Regions from separate parts of the Homo sapiens genome. Here region 2 is linked to region 1. Evidence: promoter capture Hi-C in human tissues and cell types (Jung and others, 2019). All regions are on one chromosome and are shown on one strand. Each heading gives the region's core, a stretch centred on a gene start or on the middle of the fragment in contact. The rest is flanking DNA. Distances are from core to core; before and after follow the strand shown. Region 1 holds the start of KRT73 (keratin 73). Region 2 overlaps KRT75 (keratin 75).

The links. Contacts are between HindIII fragments. The study calls those that stand out against the background at their distance.
Region 2: a fragment that was not itself captured here is called in contact with the fragment with the promoter of KRT73 in region 1 in 2 of the 25 tissues and cell types used here (H1 embryonic stem cells and dorsolateral prefrontal cortex).

The regions. Positions count from the first base shown.
Region 1 is chr12:52,617,154-52,620,187 of GRCh38, reverse strand. KRT73 (keratin 73) reads left to right here and starts at 1,629. Exons shown (of 9, transcript NM_175068.3): 1 at 1,629-2,110. The coding sequence starts at 1,664. The HindIII fragment of the contact is 11,365 bases long and covers 1-3,034 here.
Region 2 is chr12:52,426,414-52,429,139 of GRCh38, reverse strand. KRT75 (keratin 75) reads left to right here. Exons shown (of 9, transcript NM_004693.3): 6 at 397-522; 7 at 664-884; 8 at 2,289-2,323. Among named protein-coding and RNA genes, the nearest start is that of KRT75, 6.6 kb to the left of the region's middle. The HindIII fragment of the contact is 7,225 bases long and covers 1-2,726 here.

The sequences.
Region 1 (3,034 bases), core at 380-2,879:
GAGCCGAGATCATGCTATTGCACTCCAGCCTGGGCAAGAAGAGTGAAACGCCATCTCAAAAAAAAAAAAAAAAAAAAAGAAAAAAAGGAATAGAACTTCATGTTAGCTAAAAAAGATTAAAGGACTTCCAAGTGGCATTGCCTTTAGTGAAATTGAAGACATCAAAGAAAATGATTATTCTTAACTAGAAAACAACCATATTGTATAAAACAGAGGGGAGGTTGAATTTGGCAATTGCTTAGTACAACAATTTTAGAGGCATATCATAACCTCTATACAGAAATAGAAAAGAAGGATGGGCCAACTGTTCATTCAAGTACTCCAGCTAGTGAAATACTTGTGTTTTTATGGAGGAAATTCTATACTATGGATATATTTGGGATTTGGGATTTGGGAAACTCTTGGGTCACATACTTTGGCAATGTCAAGGATCCATGAAATTCAAATGTCTTCCCCTACCTCCCCATCTCCAAAATTGTGAGCTAGGTTTGGTCTTCATAATTCGGGACCCAAGAGCCTAGCACAGTACCTGGGAGAGAGTCAGCCCTCAAGAGAAGTCTGTTAAACGAATGGATAAATGAATGAACAAGTAGATGGCTGGCTGGCTGGTTGGACGGATAGATGGACGAATGAATAAGGCGGGCATAGCTCTGAATGTGGAGTCAGAAGACCAGCCAAGGGAGTCCTCAAGGCTGGGGCCTGTGCTTTTTGGGGGCATTTTCATTCTCTGGGATTCACACAAAGAAAGGACTCACTAAATGTTTGCTAAAGGAATGACATCCTCAATTATCTGAACCTTGGTTTCCCCATTTGTGTAATGTGGATCATCACCATTCCCCTCCATGCAGACTAAGTGGATTAAATGAGCTTCTTGTGTGAGGAGCTCTGTTACACTGTAAAGTGCTGCACCAGTGTCAGCCATCGTGAATGGTGCAATGACCATAATTTCAAGGTCAAGAGTCAGGGTAGTGGGATGGTAAAGGGAAAAAGAAGTCAGTGTGTGCAAAGGAAGGTGAGCAGGGCAGCCCGGCTGGCACAGAGGAGCAGGAGAGCTGCCTGGGAGGGCACAGCAGGGGGCTGGCAGCCAGAGGCTGGTCCTGGATTCCCAGTGTGCTCCTCTCCTATGGCCCTGGCCAGCCATCAAACCTGTCTCCAGGAACTCTGGGAAGCCAGGCAGCAGCAGCCTCTTCTTAACCACATAAAAGCAGCTCAGCCAGGGTCCCTGAAGCAGCCCATCTGATGCTGGCATGGTTGTGAGATTTCTAACAGATGACACTGTCAATTAAAGGTCTCCCCTCTGTACCCCTACAATCCCAGGCCCCACCACTCCCTGGGGAACAGCAATTGAGACTGCGACAAACCTCCCACCTAAGATCTTTCTATGGATAATGTGCCCATGCTAATTACACATGTTCATTAGATAAAACTCAAATTACATGAGCAAGACTTGCAAGACTAGCACTTTGGGAGTTTTCAAGTCATTTACCTGGTGTCTGATTTTGCTGGGAGAAAATGATTTCTTGCTTCCAGGCAAACTGAACCCACAAATTAGGCCCATGGCTCCCTCTTGAGTCCTATAAAGTGGGAGCCCAGGATCACAGGCTGGTGAACTGCATCTCAGCTAAGGGTCAGCATCTTATCCCCACTTTCTGGCCTCCCCACCATGAGCCGCCAATTCACCTACAAGTCGGGAGCTGCTGCCAAGGGGGGCTTCAGCGGCTGCTCCGCTGTGCTCTCAGGGGGCAGCTCATCCTCCTACCGAGCAGGGGGCAAAGGGCTCAGTGGAGGCTTCAGCAGTCGGAGCCTTTACAGCCTGGGGGGTGCCCGGAGCATCTCTTTCAATGTGGCCAGTGGCAGTGGGTGGGCAGGAGGCTATGGATTTGGCCGGGGCCGGGCCAGTGGCTTTGCTGGCAGCATGTTTGGCAGTGTGGCCTTGGGGTCCGTGTGTCCGTCGTTGTGCCCGCCCGGGGGTATCCATCAGGTCACCATCAACAAGAGCCTCCTGGCACCCCTGAACGTGGAGCTGGACCCTGAAATCCAGAAAGTGCGTGCCCAGGAGCGGGAGCAGATCAAGGTGCTGAACAACAAGTTCGCCTCCTTCATTGACAAGGTGGGTCTTTCTGGAGAAAGCTGATCTTGGGCTCCCCTTTTAAGGACTCAGGAGGGAGCCACTGCCCTAATTTGTGGTTCAATTTGCCTGAGAGCAAGAAATCATTTTCTCCCAGCAAAATCAGACACCAGGTAAACAACTTGAAAGCTCCCCAGGTGCTGGGCCCATAAGGCTTGCTCATGCCGTAGAGCCCCTTCCTTCCCCCGCCTTCATTGTCCTTGGGGTGCTCCCTGTCTGAAGCAGACGAAGGCAGGACACCTCCCCAGGATGCAGACATAGCCCAGGGAGGAACTGGACAAAGCCTGGACATCAGAGGCAAGGGACCAGGGTTGGAGGGGTGAGAGGAGCCAGCAGCCTAGCCCAGGAAGGTGTCCAGGAAGCAATGAGAGCGGTCTCTGAGTTGAGAAGTAGCAGAGTGACAGCCTGTGAGACTTAGAAGCTAGGCGAAGGAGATGCCCTTGACAGCCTGGGGCATCTAGACTGCCATGCGACCCAGCTGTTCCTCCTGTGTCCCCTGAAAGCTCAGACTCAGTCCGTAACACACACAGCCTATGAGGCAAGGCAGCTGGAGGTCACGGTGCCCTAGAGCAGTGGTTCTCAAAGGTGGCCCTGGAACCAGCAGCAGCAACGTCACCTGGACGCTTGTTAGAATGCACACTCTCAGGCTCCACCCCAGAGCAACTGAATCAGAGACTCTGCAGCAGGGCCCAGCACCCTGCATTTTAACAAGCTCTCCAGGTGATGCTGATGTACACTCAGGTTTGAGAATCACTGAGGAACAAAGTGGTAGGAAGGTATTGGGAAGCAGAGACTTCCTAAGCTTAGAGGAGCAGGGGAAGCTCACCCGGAGCGACAGTGAGGTAGGGTGGTGAGGCATGAGTAGGAGTTTTCAGATGGAGGTGGGGAAAAGGCAATCTAGGGAGA
Region 2 (2,726 bases), core at 211-2,710, 190 kb after region 1:
GCTGTTTCCTTTGTCTGGAATGTTCTCCCCCACAACTGGTCACTTAGGTCCCTCCTTCTCATCCTTCAGACCACAGTTCAAGCATCTCCATCTCTGGAGAGACTTCTCTGACCACCACTTCCCACTTCCAAATCTAGGTCAGATTCCTTCATTACACTCTCCCAGGACCCTGTTCATTTCCTAAGGGCACTTATCTTAGTGTGGAACTATACATTTGATAATATGCTAATTCAGTTAATGTCTATGTCCCCCAATAAACTGTAAGCTTCAGGGGGAATGAGTGAATGACCAGGAATGAATGAGCCTGCTTGTGGCACCCAGGGTGGGTCTGTGTGCACAGCGAGTGCCTGGGCCAGGCATTTGACTCAGTGACTGGGTTTGCTCTGGTTCTCTCAGTACGAGGAGCTGCAGGTCACCGCAGGCAGACATGGGGATGACCTTCGAAACACCAAACAAGAGATCTCTGAAATGAACCGCATGATCCAGAGGCTGAGAGCTGAGATTGACAGCGTCAAGAAGCAGGTAAAGATTTGGCAGGGCCAAGAGCTCCTCAAATGCTCATTTCTTCTGGGCCTTTCTGCCATCTTTAAGAACTCCTCCCCAAGAAGCACCACACCTCCATGGGCTGTCAGCAGGACTCATGGCTTCCTCCTGTCCTTACAGTGTTCCAGCTTGCAAACGGCCATTGCTGATGCAGAGCAGCGGGGAGAACTGGCTCTCAAGGATGCACGGGCCAAGCTGGTGGACCTTGAGGAGGCCCTGCAGAAGGCCAAGCAGGACATGGCTCGGCTCCTGCGTGAGTACCAGGAGCTGATGAACATCAAGCTGGCCCTGGACGTGGAGATCGCCACCTACCGCAAGCTGCTGGAAGGCGAGGAGTGCAGGTGAGGCAGATGCACCAACTTCATCCTCAAAGCAAGTTGAGCTCACCTCAGCTTCCTGGGCATTCCTAGGGGCTCGGGCTGTTGCAGCCCCTTCTTCTCCTGGAAGAAAATGCAGTTCAGAATTGGGCTATGGCAAAAAAATAATTTTAATTTCCTTCCAGGCTAGTAAATCATTTGAGGTGCAACTACAGTTAGCATCCCCATAGAAACCTAAAACCTGATCAGGTCTAAGTAACTGAATTCTACCAAAGGAGACATTTGGTTACATGGCAGCTCTCGAAATGTGGTCTAAAAGGCCATGGGCTGAGAACAAACAGTCCTAGGATTTGGGCTTACAGATCTAACACTAAGTAGCTACATAACCTTGGGAAAGTCAGTCTCCCTTCTCTGGCCCTCAATTTCTTCAATGATAAAATGAAAAGGTCAGATTACATGATCCGCAAAGCTTCATGGGAGCTTTGTGCTCTGCCAGTTAGGAGCTGTGTAGCCAAGAGCAGATACTTAACCTCTCCACCTCTCAGTGTTCTCATCCAATAAAATGTGAATAACAATAGTTCTAAACTCTCACATTATTAAAAGGGTTAAAATAAGGGAATACACACAAAGCTCTTAGAACAATGCATGGTACACAGCGTGTTCGATAAATGTTAGCTATCATTCAGTTTCATGGCCAAAGACATAGGCTTTGGTGTCAGATGAATCTGTCTTCAAGTCCAGCTTTGCGACTATGGGCAAGTTAGTTAACTTGTCTGAGCTTCCATTTCTCCCTCTATAAAAGTGAGCAAATAATACCTACCTCATGGGGTTGTTGAGAGAACTAAGTGGTGTGATATAAGTAACAGGTAATCAACAGCTGTTACCTCTTGTTAAGTTTCTCAGTATGTGTTTATGAATGAATGCCAGTTCTGTCCTGAAGATGCTAAAGCAAAGTTACTTGGTTGCTAAGATAATAATAAACTGATATTACTATTGTTATTTTTATGACTCAGACGCCTCTCCACACCTATATACAATAAGCTCAGCCCTGGCTCAGTGCATGACAATGGTCCCTTGTTGAGAGACAAATCTTATTATAGGACAGGCCCTTCTTTCCAGTTGATGCCAGTATATGATTACTTTTAATTTCCTTAAGGCATCTAACTAGTTTAAACCAAAAATTGTATTTCTGAGATTATAGATTTTGCTCCTGTGAACCTCAAACTCCACCTTATTTTATTCATTAGATTATTAATATTATCTTTAATACTACTAGTTCTCAAATAATTTCAACCTGCATTACTTCTGCAATAAAAATAATAAAGTATGTTTAAATGCTTTGTCAACAATTACAAAAGTGTCATTGCAAAGGCCCTTAAGCTGCTGGCCACATTGGTAACCTTCCTTCTCCCTGCTCTTCCCAATCAGGTTGAGTGGAGAGGGAGTTTCTCCAGTTAACATTTGTGAGTATGACATACTTCTTGGGCCATTTGGAGTGTGTGTGGTAGAGGGGATGGGGATGTGGTGGGCTTGCCAGAGGGTGAAGATATGACGGGTTAGACGGGATCTCACAGACAGCGTTCATTTGGAGAAGGTTTGAGGTTTTGGGTCCCTTAAAAAGCAAGCCATATTAGGAGTCTTTAATGTCACAGTTCTTTCCTCTTTGAGAGTGAGGGTGTCACAGAAGGGGTGATGAGAGGTTTGATGTCATTGTTCTGAGTGGGTTTAAAAGATCCTGGCCACATCTCCTACCTCCCAGAATTCCCTGCCTTTTTGTTGGGGCTGCAAGCCTAGCACAGAGGTGAGCACTTGATGTAGACGGGATTTATGAAAATTCCTGGTCTGGCTTGGACCTTTGAAGGGAGC